Linked DNA regions of Homo sapiens: all the other regions are linked to region 1. Evidence: promoter capture Hi-C in 16 types of primary human blood cells and fetal thymus (Javierre and others, 2016). All regions are on one chromosome and are shown on one strand. Each heading gives the region's core, a stretch centred on a gene start or on the middle of the fragment in contact. The rest is flanking DNA. Distances are from core to core; before and after follow the strand shown.

Evidence for each region. The method cuts DNA at HindIII sites, captures the fragments that hold promoters and counts their contacts. A CHiCAGO score of 5 or more calls a contact.
Region 2: a fragment that was not itself captured here is called in contact with the fragment with the promoter of AUH in region 1 in 1 of 17 cell types (activated CD4 T cells); the score reaches 6.2 in activated CD4 T cells.
Region 3: a fragment that was not itself captured here is called in contact with the fragment with the promoter of AUH in region 1 in 2 of 17 cell types (activated CD4 T cells and megakaryocytes); the score reaches 5.3 in activated CD4 T cells.
Region 4: a contact is called between a fragment that was not itself captured here and the fragment with the promoter of AUH in region 1, in 1 of 17 cell types (neutrophils). The highest score is 6.2, in neutrophils.

The regions. Positions count from the first base shown.
Region 1 is chr9:91,360,331-91,363,540 of GRCh38, forward strand. It overlaps AUH (AU RNA binding methylglutaconyl-CoA hydratase), which reads right to left and starts at 1,588. Exons shown (of 10, transcript NM_001698.3): 1 at 1,298-1,588. The coding sequence starts at 1,559. RefSeq lists a silencer at 1,319-1,758. The HindIII fragment of the contact is 2,357 bases long and covers 1-2,298 here.
Region 2 is chr9:91,232,854-91,236,063 of GRCh38, forward strand. All of the region lies in intron 6 of AUH (AU RNA binding methylglutaconyl-CoA hydratase), which reads right to left. Among named protein-coding and RNA genes, the nearest start is that of LINC02937, 71 kb to the left of the region's middle. RefSeq lists a silencer at 3,134-3,210. The HindIII fragment of the contact is 200 bases long and covers 1,575-1,774 here.
Region 3 is chr9:91,254,083-91,257,292 of GRCh38, forward strand. All of the region lies in intron 6 of AUH (AU RNA binding methylglutaconyl-CoA hydratase), which reads right to left. Among named protein-coding and RNA genes, the nearest start is that of LINC02937, 92 kb to the left of the region's middle. The HindIII fragment of the contact is 682 bases long and covers 1,420-2,101 here.
Region 4 is chr9:91,434,844-91,438,053 of GRCh38, forward strand. It overlaps a transcript of NFIL3 not described here. Among named protein-coding and RNA genes, the nearest start is that of NFIL3, 13 kb to the left of the region's middle. The HindIII fragment of the contact is 6,179 bases long and covers 1-3,210 here.

The DNA.
Region 1 (3,210 bases), core at 338-2,837:
CCAGCTGAATTTCTTACTATTCTGCTTATGCCACACTTGCCTTATGTTACGTCCCAAATACACCACACATGTTCACATCTCCATGCCTTTGACCATGTTCTTGTCTCTGTCTGGAATAATAAGTAAGGAATAAAGTCATTCATCACACTCCTGAAGCACTGCTACGTGCTAGTGGCAATTTACATTAACAATCTCATCTCATCTTCATAACAAACCTATAAAGTTGGTATTGTTTTTCCTGTTTTACACGTGAGATAAGTCTGCCCAAGAACCCTCACAAATGGCAAAATCCACTGCCTATTAAAGAATGCCTTGGAACCCCTTTCAAATGGCGAAACCCTGCAGGTATTACAGCCCTTTCCTCTTACCATGCCTTGAAAGTTCACACAGCCTACTAATAACCAGGATCTGCTTCACTACACTAAAACCAATCACGACTTACACGCTTTTCACTTCTGCTTAACAGATTATAGGTGCTCAACAAATGCATGTCAAAATTAAAACACTGGTCCTCTGGCTTAACCCGGAGGTTAAGGGTGGAAACTGCTATTCCACCCTTCACGACCCTTTTAGCTTTTCCCTGCACTGCCAGTGAAAGGAACTGAGCTGTAACAGTATTCCCTAGGATTGTCAGCCTCCTTCAAAGCCTTCAAAGCTCTGTATTGTATTGCTAATGATGTCTCCTCCCGTAGAAGGTAGCTCAAGGGCAAGATCCATACCATCCACATTCTTATCGCCAGAGCTGAGGAAAATAAAAAGTGCTCAAAATTGTTTAAATGAAGTGGAACAGTCCCTCAAGACTAACTTTCTAAGAGAAAATGAACAAGAGGAAAAATTGTTCCAGCTGAGCAGCTTCAAATTTAAGATTCTCCGTAATAATAAAAGGCAGTTTCACCGCAGCTTTTACAACTCCACCACTAATAGCTGAGTTTACAGAAAGCCATTACACAGCAACAATAAAGCCTGGTAGCAAGGATTAAATCCCCAGGGTATATATTGACCTTGGCTTGTCTGGAGCGGAGGGCGTAAGCTGCACTTCTGTTTGCCGCGCTGAATGCGGTCACTTTACAGGTAAGCTGCTCGGGGGTACACGTTTAGGTTATTAAAAGCAAGAAATAGGTGCACAAGGAAGCGGCCACGCTGGGTGAGTAGGGAGGTGAGAAAGGGGAGGGACCCAGGTTCGGTGCGCCTGCCTGACCTCGACCCCGCGTCCTGCCGGCGGACGCTGCACCTTATGCCCGTCCTGAGAGCGAGCGGCCGCCCGCTGCCCCGCGCCTGCCCAGCGTTCGCACCTCACCTCGGTTCTCCTCCTCCAGGTGCCGCACCCGCAGCTCGTCCTCCGTCTTCATCTCAGAGCTGTAGCCCCTTTTCGGGGCGGGACCCCCGGCCGCAGGTACCCAGCCCTGGGCCCAGATCGCCGGGCCCGCTCGCCGGCCTGCCAACGAGCCGGGCAGCCTCAACCCCGGGCAGAGCCACGCACTGCAAGCGGCCACCAGGCGGGCGCCGCCAGCATGCAGGGATCCCAAGGCCCCAGGTGCCGCCGCCACCGCGGCCGCCATGTTGTCTGTTTACGGCGTGGACCTGCGACGGCCGCTCCGCCCCCGCCCGGCGCCGACCTGCCGCGCGCACGCGCACGGCGTCCGGACCCGCCGCCTCGCTCCGGCTTGGCCCCGCCCTCCGGAGCCGTGTTCCCGCCCCTCACTGCCCCGCCGAAGCCCGGTGACCCGAGGCCTTGCCCCATTCTCCAAGCGAGATTGGATGGTTTGTCCAATACAAAAGGAAAGAAAGTAGTTTTCCAAGGTTATGGAATAATTCAGGGAAGACTTTTCTATAAGAACCACCCGGAGGGAATTATCTCCCCGTACTCCCTGGACCATGCCCTGCGGTCCTGTGTTAAGTAAGCTGCAAAAGTGAACAAAAAAGTTTTGTCTCCTCAAGTTGGCTGAAAGTGTGGCAGCCCATCGTTGGTCACTGCCTTACTTATGGATCTCAGGTTGTTGGTTTAGCGTCCCTGATAAGCATAAATGATGTTTACTACGTGGCGTTCAGGAAAAGGATGAGAACAGCAAACAGGCAAAGGAGTTCTTTCTCCAGCCCACCCACTCGTACCGATGTCCCATGGCCCTTCCTGGACGGAAAGAGTCTTACAGGGGTTCAAACAAGCCATACGCTGAGATGGGATTTAGAGTATGTAGCTCTTCCAGAAACTCGGGATATCAATTTAGTGTGTAGGTACTCATCAAAGCACGTTGCAGTATAATTAATGCTACCTAGCTTTTATCAGATCTCTAATGGGAAAGCTTGCATTTAAGAATACTGGGCAGGGGGCGGTGGCTCACGCCTGTAATCCAAGCACTTTGGGAGGCCGAGGCAGGTGGATCACCTGAGGTCAGGAGTTTGAGACCAGCCGGGCCAACGTGGTGAAACCCTGTCTCTACTAAAAATACAAAATTAGCCAGGTGTGGCGGCACACGCCTGTAATCCCAGCTACTCGGGAGGCTGAGACAGGAGAATTGCTTGAACCCGGGAGGCGGAGGTTGCCCTGAGCTGAGACTGCACCATTGCACTCCAGTCCAGGCAACAAGAGTGAAACTCTGTCTCAAAAAAAAAAAAAAAAAAAAAAAAGAATACTGTTTGAAAAGTGTGCTGCTATGAGCATACGTCTAGTGCCACAGAAATTTCTTGTATTTTTTAGTCCTAAGCAAAACATCCTTCATTATGTCCTCAACTTTTATCCAATGTAGAAACAAAAAGTAGACTGAATTCCATTACTGCATCTGCTGTAAAATGATGTTGAAGGCACTTTTATTTTTATTTTTATTTTTTATTTTTTGACAGGTTCTGGCTCTGTCGGCCAGGCTGGAGTGCAGTGGTGTGATCGCCTCTCGCTGCAACCTCTGCATCTCAGGCTCAAATGATCCTCCCACCTCAGCCTCCTGAGTAGCTGGGATCACAGGCACACACCACCACACCTGGGTAATTTTTGTATTTTTAGTAGAGATGGGTGTTTCTATGTTGGCCAGGCTGGTCTTGAACACCTGACATCAAGTGATCCACCCAACTTGACCTCCCAGAATGCTGGGATTACAGGTGTGAGCCACCATGCACAGCCCACTTTTTATTCTATCTTTTGTAAAGTTCCATGCAGGAAAATTTTCCTGAAGTTTACTACAAGGAAAACTTTGCTTCCTTTGTATCTTTCCTCTTTTC
Region 2 (3,210 bases), core at 425-2,924, 130 kb before region 1:
GCTCTAAAACAGGAGGTGGAGAGATAATTCTCTTAAATTAAAGCAACAGAATTTACATAACCAAGTAAGTAATTGCAATCATCACCTCACATGCTGTCTACTTGTTGTTTAGGACCATTTTGGAATTCCTCCTTTAAAACTAATTTCACAGATGACAACCCATTTTTTCACTCATTGAAGCATCACTATGGAGGGACCCTGTTTTGGTACATGGATACATCCATGAACAAAACAAAGCCCCTGGCCCCTGGCGTTCAACACTGTCATGGGAAGCCTCGCAATAAAGAAAGAAATACACACAGAGAGTAAGAAAGCGGGGGGAGATGGAGTGGGGATGGGCACAGTTAAGACAGGATGGCCAGGGAAGGGCTCTGAGCAGGTGACACTGGAGCTGAGGCAGGAGGTAGCAAGGATTCCCACACAGGTCTGGGGAATGCATCTCCAGGAGGAACACGAAGGGCACAGGTTTTGTGGGAATTGCAACTGATTCACTTGTGGAGCACAAGGAGGTCCAGTGTGGCTGAAGTGCACAGCAGGGGCAGATCCTGTGGGTCCCATGGGCCCAAAAGGACCTGGGGTTTACTCTGAGGGGGACAAGAAGCCACTGAACATCTGAGAGCATCTTCTGAGAAACAGTGGTATGGGACTGTCATTCTCTAATGAAGATTTGAGCTTGTCAACCTAAATAAAAAACAGGGAGAGGGCCTCTAAAAGGAATCTGGGAATAAAGCATTGCAACAGGAATGCGTATGCCATAAACAATGTGTATATTCAGGGAGATAAAGGAAGACAAAGGTTTTTAGAGGAAAAAATGAAGATTACGTAACTGTTTCAAAATAATTATCCTTGGCTACAAAGATCAATAACAAGTAACGCCAGCCTGAGGCTGGACAGGCAGTTGAACAGACATCCTTGCAGAAGTGTCTTCTGTATAAGGTTACAATGGCCTTCATGTAAGGTTGTGGTTTTTGCAGAGTGTTTTGTGATGGTTTTAGTTATCAGGCATACAAGCATAAGAACCCTCTTTTCATGGGCTTCTCAATTCTATTTGTCAGGGTTATTTTTAACACCAGTGATTCCATTTTGATTCCTCAGAGATTTGAGGGAGAATTATGGTCATGAACTAAGAAGACGGGGGTAGGCAGATGTTTGTACTATTTGTGGTGGAGCTCCAACAAGCTCAGAGAGAGACTTCTAAACAAGTTCCCCAAATGATTTGAATGTTGGCCATGTTTTGGCTGCTCAACATCCACTGCCCCCATTAAAATCCCGGTCTTGCTTTTGGAGACCCCTTTGGCCACCCCTCTCTCCACTGTATCAGCCTTGGACAGTAGAGGATCCCTGCAACTGAAGCCCAAGAGCCAGAGCTGCCTCCTCTGCCCTGACACAGCTGGACAGGCGTCTACATCAGGTCTGGCCTGCTGGATGCTGCTTCCAGGACTGACAGTCTGAATGGGCAACCTCATGGCATGGAGATTTGCCAAGCTCACAAAGAGCACAGGGCAGTGACGTGCAGACCTGCCATGGTATAGACTGTCTAGTTCTGGGGCTCCTGGGTTCCAGTTTGTGCTCTAAGCTTCAATCTCTATCCATCTATTGATTTCAGGAGACTTACAATAAATTTCCTTTTCATTTAGGGTAGCCAGAGTCAATTTCTATTGCTTACTCTCCAAAAAGACGAATCATACAATAATAGAGCTATTAGTTTTCTTTCTCTTTAAAAAAGTCAGATGAAACTGAATGGGAGTTTATCCGTTTTACTTTTTCCAAATAAAGCTTATTTAAGTTCAATAAATAATTTATTGATTAACCTAACAAGTGCCAGGCACTGTCCTAGGTGCTGAACCCACAGTGCTGAGTAAGATAGACCATTCCTTACCATTCTGCAGAAGGAGAGCAAAGACAAATGGCAAGAAGCAATGGGCCAGAGAGAAGAGACTGTGAGGAGTGTTACACAGAGAATTTCAGGCAGGGAAGAGAGTTCTGAGACAGCACACTAGATGACTAATTTAGATTGGGTGGTTGGAGAAGGCCTGCTTGATAAAGGTGAGGCCAATGTCTGAAATATAACCAGACATCCAAATGAAGATCAGGAAGAACACCCAGTGATGAGCTCAGCTGGTACAAAGATGTAAAGATGAGGCAGAGTATGGCCCATTGAAGGAGACCACTGTGGCTCATAGGAAAGGATGTGAGGAGGAGCAGGACAGGAGCTTGGGTAAGCGGAGTAGAAGTTTACATTTTACCCTAGGCAAAGTGACACAAAGGCACTGGAGGATTTTGAGCAGCAAGTGACATAATTTGATCTGCACTTTAAAAAGATCATTTGTAAGATTGGGGGAGAAGAGATGATAGGGGCAAAATCAGAACAGGGTGCCCAGTAGGCAGCTACTGCTGTCACCCAAGTACAACAGGATGGCAGCTTGGACCGAGACAGCGCAAGGTAGGGAGAGAGATGTGGAGGACTTGGAATAAGTGTTGTCTGAAATGCTAGTTAAATGGATGCTGGGAGAAAGGAAAATCAATCTAATGGCTAGATTTTTAGCCTGAGTGTGTGAGTGTCCGATATTATGAACACTGACAAGAATGGAGGAGGGGGAAGCTGTGCTCTGGCCAAGGTAAGTATAATGTATCTTTTACACATAAGAGTGGAGCAGTCATGTGTGAGACTGGACACAGAGAATAAGGTTTACCAATGATTAGTATCATACAGGTAGCATTCAAAACCAAGGTCCTGAATAAGATCACTTAGGGAGACTGTTTAGACAAATGTCAGCAAGACCTGGACAGGTGCTCACTGAGGCTGTTCAGCTGCTCAGGTGCAGCCAACCACATTTTATAAGTCACCTGTTCCTGTTCTACCACTATTCACCCTACCCTTCCTTCAATAAAGCTATGTCTGCAGGGGTCTTCTAGGAAAGATATTCTTCACTGAAATAAAGACATTCAGGAATACACAGGTCTTCTTCCAGGATGCTGTCACCTCTAAATGTGATACTTAGAGCTATGGCAGCCACCTTGTGACCATGATGGAAGGTGGCAAGGGCAAAGTCTCCAAACTGAAGATGGCACAGCAGAAAGACAGCACTAGGCTGCTGACCTTATCAATCCTGAAGACGCCTTACTCTGTGACTGCTTGTGATGCTACAGAGTATTTTCTTATTGTTTAAGCCAGCTGAAATAGGGTTTCCTGTAATTTGTACCAAGAAC
Region 3 (3,210 bases), core at 511-3,010, 110 kb before region 1:
GAACGTTAATAAAGTAAATCTGAATTGTCTTCAGTGCACAGGCCTCTCCCGGAAAGCAGACACAGGAAGACTGCACATCTGTGAAGAATATCTCTGGATGGTGTGCACAAACTTACTGGTTGACTTGAATTTCCCAGATTTTATAACTTGGGGCTAAAATAAAGGTAATGTAAGAGGATTAAACAAAGCACTATGGGAGGAAGCTGCGGAAAGTCTTCCCTGAGCAGGGGCACTGGGAACAAGAAGGCCTCTCCCAACAACAGCAGGGGCCTCAAATGGCTGAGACGGGGTGCAGACAGGATGGGAAGGGCAAAACTGAGCAATGAAAATAAAGTGTTCAATGCCAGGATGAGCTTATGCTTTCTTTAGTAAGCAATGTGAACCACTGGTTTTGATGTAAAGTTCATTTAGCAATCATGGATATAAATGTATGGAGGATAGAATTCCAGAGTTTAACTGTAAGATGCTGGATTAGCTCTGAGGGCAGGTAACAGAAGACTAAATTAAAAGTGTGATAGTAGAAACAAAAACGAATTCTAAACATAAGAGATGGGTAATCTAAAATAGCAAGCTGTCCATATCTCTTCAGTTAATAAAACATGTCAAGAACTGCCTATATTGGCAACCATTCGTATGACATCAATGCAACAATATGTTTACACTGAACATCATTTTCCTAATATCACAGCACATCTCTTAACTAACAAAAATCCTAAATGGCAGAATGGGACAATCAATATATCCTTAATTACCTATGTGACCTTGGAAAAGGTTCTAAGACTCAGTTTCCATATTTTTGATATGGGAGTAACCTACCTTTTAGACTTGACATAAAACTAAGAGACAATGGAATAATTCCTACCCCAGGACCTGGTATACAGCATAAACTCAAAGGAAAACTGAATCTGGAATTTATAGCCTGGAATTGAAAACATTTCAAACTGTCATACCAAAGTTGGAATAAAGTGTAAGGTTAGATTTATAAAAGGGTTTATATATTTAAAAAGTTCTCATCTCGGCCAGAGGTTTGGAATTGTAGACTTCTAATAATCTTATAAAGTCACTAAACACTAGTATGTATATATTAGTATCAGAGCAAACTAGTTAAATGTTGGCATGATATTAACCCTCAGATGAGTAAATATAGTCACAGTTAAACCCAGCATAAGAAAAGAAGTTTCATGTTCAAAAACTCTAAGAGCGATCATCCATACACTGACTGTATCTTTTGTTAAGATTTTTAAAAATTGTAATGCTTTCATGTTATATCGTCCCGAAGGAGTGGTTTCTGTTACAGTATCATGAAATATAGTGACATCAAGTATTTCATCTAGTTCTACTGTTTACGTGCTTTTGCTGTCCAAGTGTGTAATGTGAGTGATGGCAGCACTACAAAAGAATGTAGTTTTTAAAAGAAAAAGCTTTGCCCAGCTGCTTGTAATAAAATAACCAAACCTCACAGCAAGGGCTGATTAAGATAAAGATAAATATAGTAACAGATGCATAAGTCTGAAATAGATCTGAGAGAAACTGTTACAGAAGGATATTTCCATGACTGTCCTGATAAGCAATTTTTAGTGATTAAATATGCCTGGGCATATATATCTATTTTTTCATATAAAAGCTATTTATACTGCCTCCTTACAAGTTAGTAGTCATAAAATAATTTTTATTTTCAACTATCAAGTGCTAACTTGGTACACAGCAAAGTGATCATTTAGAAATGACATTTATTATTTATAATCAAAAGTATAATGTGAATTAACTTGGAAACTGTCATCTTTTTTCTCTTTTTCATTTTCAAAAAGCAAGCTAGTTGCTCATGAATTGAGGCTCTATAAGTTACGCAGCTCTATTTTAAAAATACATAAGCTCTAAGTTCTGGCATTTTATCTTCCATTTTATAGGAATTAAATATAATTAAATTTAAATAATGTCATGTAAACATTTTATTTCAGTTATATCTTATCTTAGAAACAACAAAGATTGATCATTTGTAATATATGGAAGTACTTGAAATTGCTTTTGGCTACTCCATTAAATCAGTTAGTGAGGCTTATACTGTAAAACAAATATGCTTCTACCCAGACTGTAGCAATTAAGCTTATGATTTATTTAGTGGCATAAAATAACACTTCATGAAATCTGTCCTAAAATAACATTTGTTAATAAAACCATTAACAAGATTATTCTGAAATATGACATCTTGTAATGAGACAGGAAGTGGGACTGACCTGCTACCCACAATCTGGAGACTGAGATCCAACCTGAGGGCAAAGACTATCGAGAACCCCAGATTCTAAAGACAGCAACAAACCTGAGCCTGCCCTCCTTTGGTGCTCATGAAGAGCACCTGGCATGGCACCAGCACAGCTACTGGCATCACCACCCAGACACTTCCTTCCAGCTATGCATTACGGACACGGAGAAGGGAGAGGAGGAAAGTCACTGTAGTCTTAACAAGGAGGGCTGGGATTTTGCCTCTGCTTGCTCCTTCCCCACCTTGGGGGTAGGAGGGTGTCTAAGAGGTCAAGGAGACTGAGGTGCCTCCAAGAACAGGAGACCAGCACTGCAGTGACAGCTGTCCCTGTGCTCAAGCGGCAGACTTACTGCACAGCCCCTCCTTCTACTGAACCAATGAAAAGAAAAGTGAGGGAGTGGGTAGGGAGGAGAACACTGGTGGCAACCTGCATACCTACTCTCTGGTGTGGTGAGGATAGGAGAGTCTCTCCTCAACATCATGGAAGGTACCTGGGCTGCAGCTACCTTGCCAGACCCTTACACAGAGAGACAGCCTATGAGGCAAAGACATGAGTTACGATTATTCAGCGGACAAAAATAACATAGGCTTAAAAAACATCAAAGCTTCTCTCTCCTTTTAAAATATCCCAAACTTGTAGGTATTCTTGGGTTATCTCTCGTGTTGTTCTGCCACCCGCTGGGTGTTGCTCTTGTCTCTGAGGTTGATGAGAATGTTCTCCAGTTCACATTGCAGCCATCTATGTGGGCAGAAACTTTGCCATAAGGCCATCTCCAAGCTATATGGGAGGCTAAAATGGTTATGTAGAGCTAAAATGGTTACGTTGATCTAGCTGGATCTGAACCAGGGTAGCAGTATTATTACTAAAAGGAAGAAAGATCCAGCCATTATTTGGAAACAGCTAGTAGTCTCTGCCACAGAGACTACTAGAGACTCTGCCACAGAGACTA
Region 4 (3,210 bases), core at 420-2,919, 75 kb after region 1:
GCAATTAAAAAAAAAATTAAGAATAGGTGGCAGTTTAGATTTGGGCCATAGGCCTGTAGTTTGCCAAACACTTCTCTAAAGGGTTTCCTAGGGAATGTGGAGGTCAGCATGAACATGCCCAAGGACCATGGCAAGGCTGCCTGTAGGTGACATAACAGTATCCGTATGAGCCGTCTTCTATGATTCCAGGCACCCCTGTGCTTTCCCTGGTTTTCTTTTGCATTCCCCCAAAGTACCTAATAACTGAATTGTGTGTTTTCTCTTTCTTTCTCTCTCTCTCCACTGCCCCCACTAGGCATAGCAAGTATTTGCTATGTCAAGTAGTGGAAGCATCACCCTCCTTGGATATTCAGTCCTCTAAATGATCAGAACCCAGAGTTGTGAGAATTGTGATAAAAACGCTTGCTGCAACTGACTTATACAATAATACAATCATCAGGCCCCTGGAGCTGCTGGTCAGAAAACTCCAACATCTCTATGACCTTGCCTGCCTGCAGCAATTGCTAACTCAACAGGAAGTGTGCCTCACCTCTCTTTCACCATCAAATTTTATCTTAATTTGCATCCAGAATACCAGTTGCAAGAGAGACTAGTAAATGTGGAATTCAAATTCTATGGTACATAAAAGGCCACTCAAAGGAGGTTGAAATGGAACTTGAGTGCCATTTCATCATGGTCCTCATGAAGCCTGACCGAGTCCACCTGCCTCTAGAGGCTGGATGATGGCTCCGTTTGGCACTGAATCAGTTTTAGAGACATCTGCCTGCGCCTGAAACTGAGGAGTGTAGGAAGAAAGGTCTGCCTTGGTGAAGTGAGGACTATGATTTTGCCACATGGTCTTCATGACTACCATTCTATTCTGTGACAGTGGTCAACCAGGGTCCCTTACTGAGACTTTCAGTGAACAGTTTATTCCATGTGCCTACAGCTTATAATCTAATTAACATTTCATCTATGCATGCCAGGTACTATCAGAACTCTTCCCTTTAATACTAGCTGGATTTTTACTTCCTTCAGTTACATCTTGTACATCCCATAGTTCACTCAACTTGCTGAGAATCTGGGAGCAATTTTTTACAGCATTCAGGGTACTTTGTTGCAAGCAACACAGACCGATTTTGGCTAATATGAGCAGAACAGTAATTTACTAAACAAAAAAACCCAAAAAACTCCAGGCAACTCACAGAATCTGTGGCAAGTCAGGTTTGAAGGCTAAAAAGCCGGAAGCTATGCCCCAAATCAAACTGCAGAATTGATCTCCCGCAGGCACTGCTGTCTCTGCTGTAGGACAGAGAAACTGCATCTGCATGGCACACTCCTCCAATGCTGCTACCAGAAAGAAAGCTCCTGCAAACAGGATACAGCCACCTTCACAGGCACTGCCCCAGGGAAAGAGCCTGCATGATCTCCATTTCTTCACATTACCATTTTCTGATTAAGATTTGAAGGTGGGGCCGGGCGCGGTGGCTCACGCCTGTAATCCCAGCACTTTGGGAGGCCGAAGGCGGGCGGATCGCGAGGTCAGGTGATAGAGACCATCCCGGCTAACACGGTGAAACCTCGTCTCTACTAAAAATACAAAAAATTAGCCGGGCGTGGTGGCGGGCACCTTTAGTTTCAGCTACTCCGGAGGCTGAGGCAGGAGAATGGCGTGAATCCGGGTGGCGGAGCTTGCAGTGAGTCGAGATGGCGCCACTGCACTCCAGCCTGGGCGACAGAGCAAGACTCTGCCTCAACAACAACAACAACAACAACAACAACAACAACAACAACAACAAAGAGTTGAAGGTGGGGAGCTAAGGAGGAGTTAAGTATGTCTGATTGGCAGGACCTACGTCATATGCCAGGACCCTGGCTACCAAGAGTCTGGGAAAATTAATAGAAGATCTTCAACTTCTCTGATTGGAGACAGGCTCTATAACCCAAAATAGGAAGAGGTTCCTCTGCCAAGTAGCCATAAAGTGACAAATGTTCACTACATCCTTCATATATAGTCAGTTACAATTTCCTACTGACACTATCCCCTAAATCAGCAGTCCCCAACCTTTTTTGGCAGCAGGGACCGGTTTCGTGGAAGACAATTTTTCCACGTGCAAGGGTTTTGGGGGATGGTTTCAGGATAAAACTGTTCCGTGTCGAATCATCAGGAGTTACATTCTCATAAGGAGTGCGCAACCTAGATCCCTCGCATGCGCAGTTCCCAGTAGAGTTCACACTCCTATGAGAATCTAATGCTTCCGCTGCTCTGACAGGAGGCTGAGCTCAGGCAGTAATGCTTGCTCGCCCACCGCTCATCTCCTGCTGTGCGGGCCAGTTCCTAACAGGCCAGGGATCAGTACCGGTCTGTGGCCTGGGGATTAAAGAACACTGTCCTAAATCTCTTTTTTAAAACAGCTTTATTGAGTTATAATTCACATCCATACAATTTACCCATGTAAAGTGCACGATTCAATGGTATTTGATGTATTACATGTTATATTTTTTGGATCAGGAATACATATATAACAAAATTTGCCTGTTGACCATTTTTAAGAAAATAAATTTAATCATTTATACTTAAGATGTAAATATATTGTGGGATACATGTAGATAGTAAAATGGTCACTATAAAGAAGCAGATTAACATATTCGTCATCTCACACAGTTACACTTTTGTTAGTTTTTGTGGCAAGAATAGCTAAAGTCTACTCATTTAGCAGGAATCACAAATACAGTACAATTTTATTATCTGTAATCTTCACGTACATTTGATCTCTAGACTTGTTCATCCTACATGTCTGTTACTTTGTGTCCTCTGACCTACATCTCCCCATTTCCTTTCTACCTCCCTAGCCCCACCCCTGGTAAGCAGTGTCTTATTCCCTATCTCTGTATATATGACTCTTTAAAAAATTCCACATGTAAATGAGATCATGTATTTTTGTGTGTGTGTCTAGCTTATTTCACTTAGCACAAACTTCCAGGTTTCTGCATGTTGTGACAAATGGCAGGATCTCCTTTTTTAAAGGCAAAATAATATGTCTTTATCTATATGTATGTAGCACAGTTTCTTAACTATTTGTATCTCTACAGACACACAGGTTGTTTCCATATCTTGGCTATTGTGGGTAGTGCTGCAGTAAACACGGGCGTGCACATACCTTTATGAAATGGTGACTTTATTTCCTTTGGGTATATGCCCAGAAAGGGGGTTGCTGGGCCACATGGTAG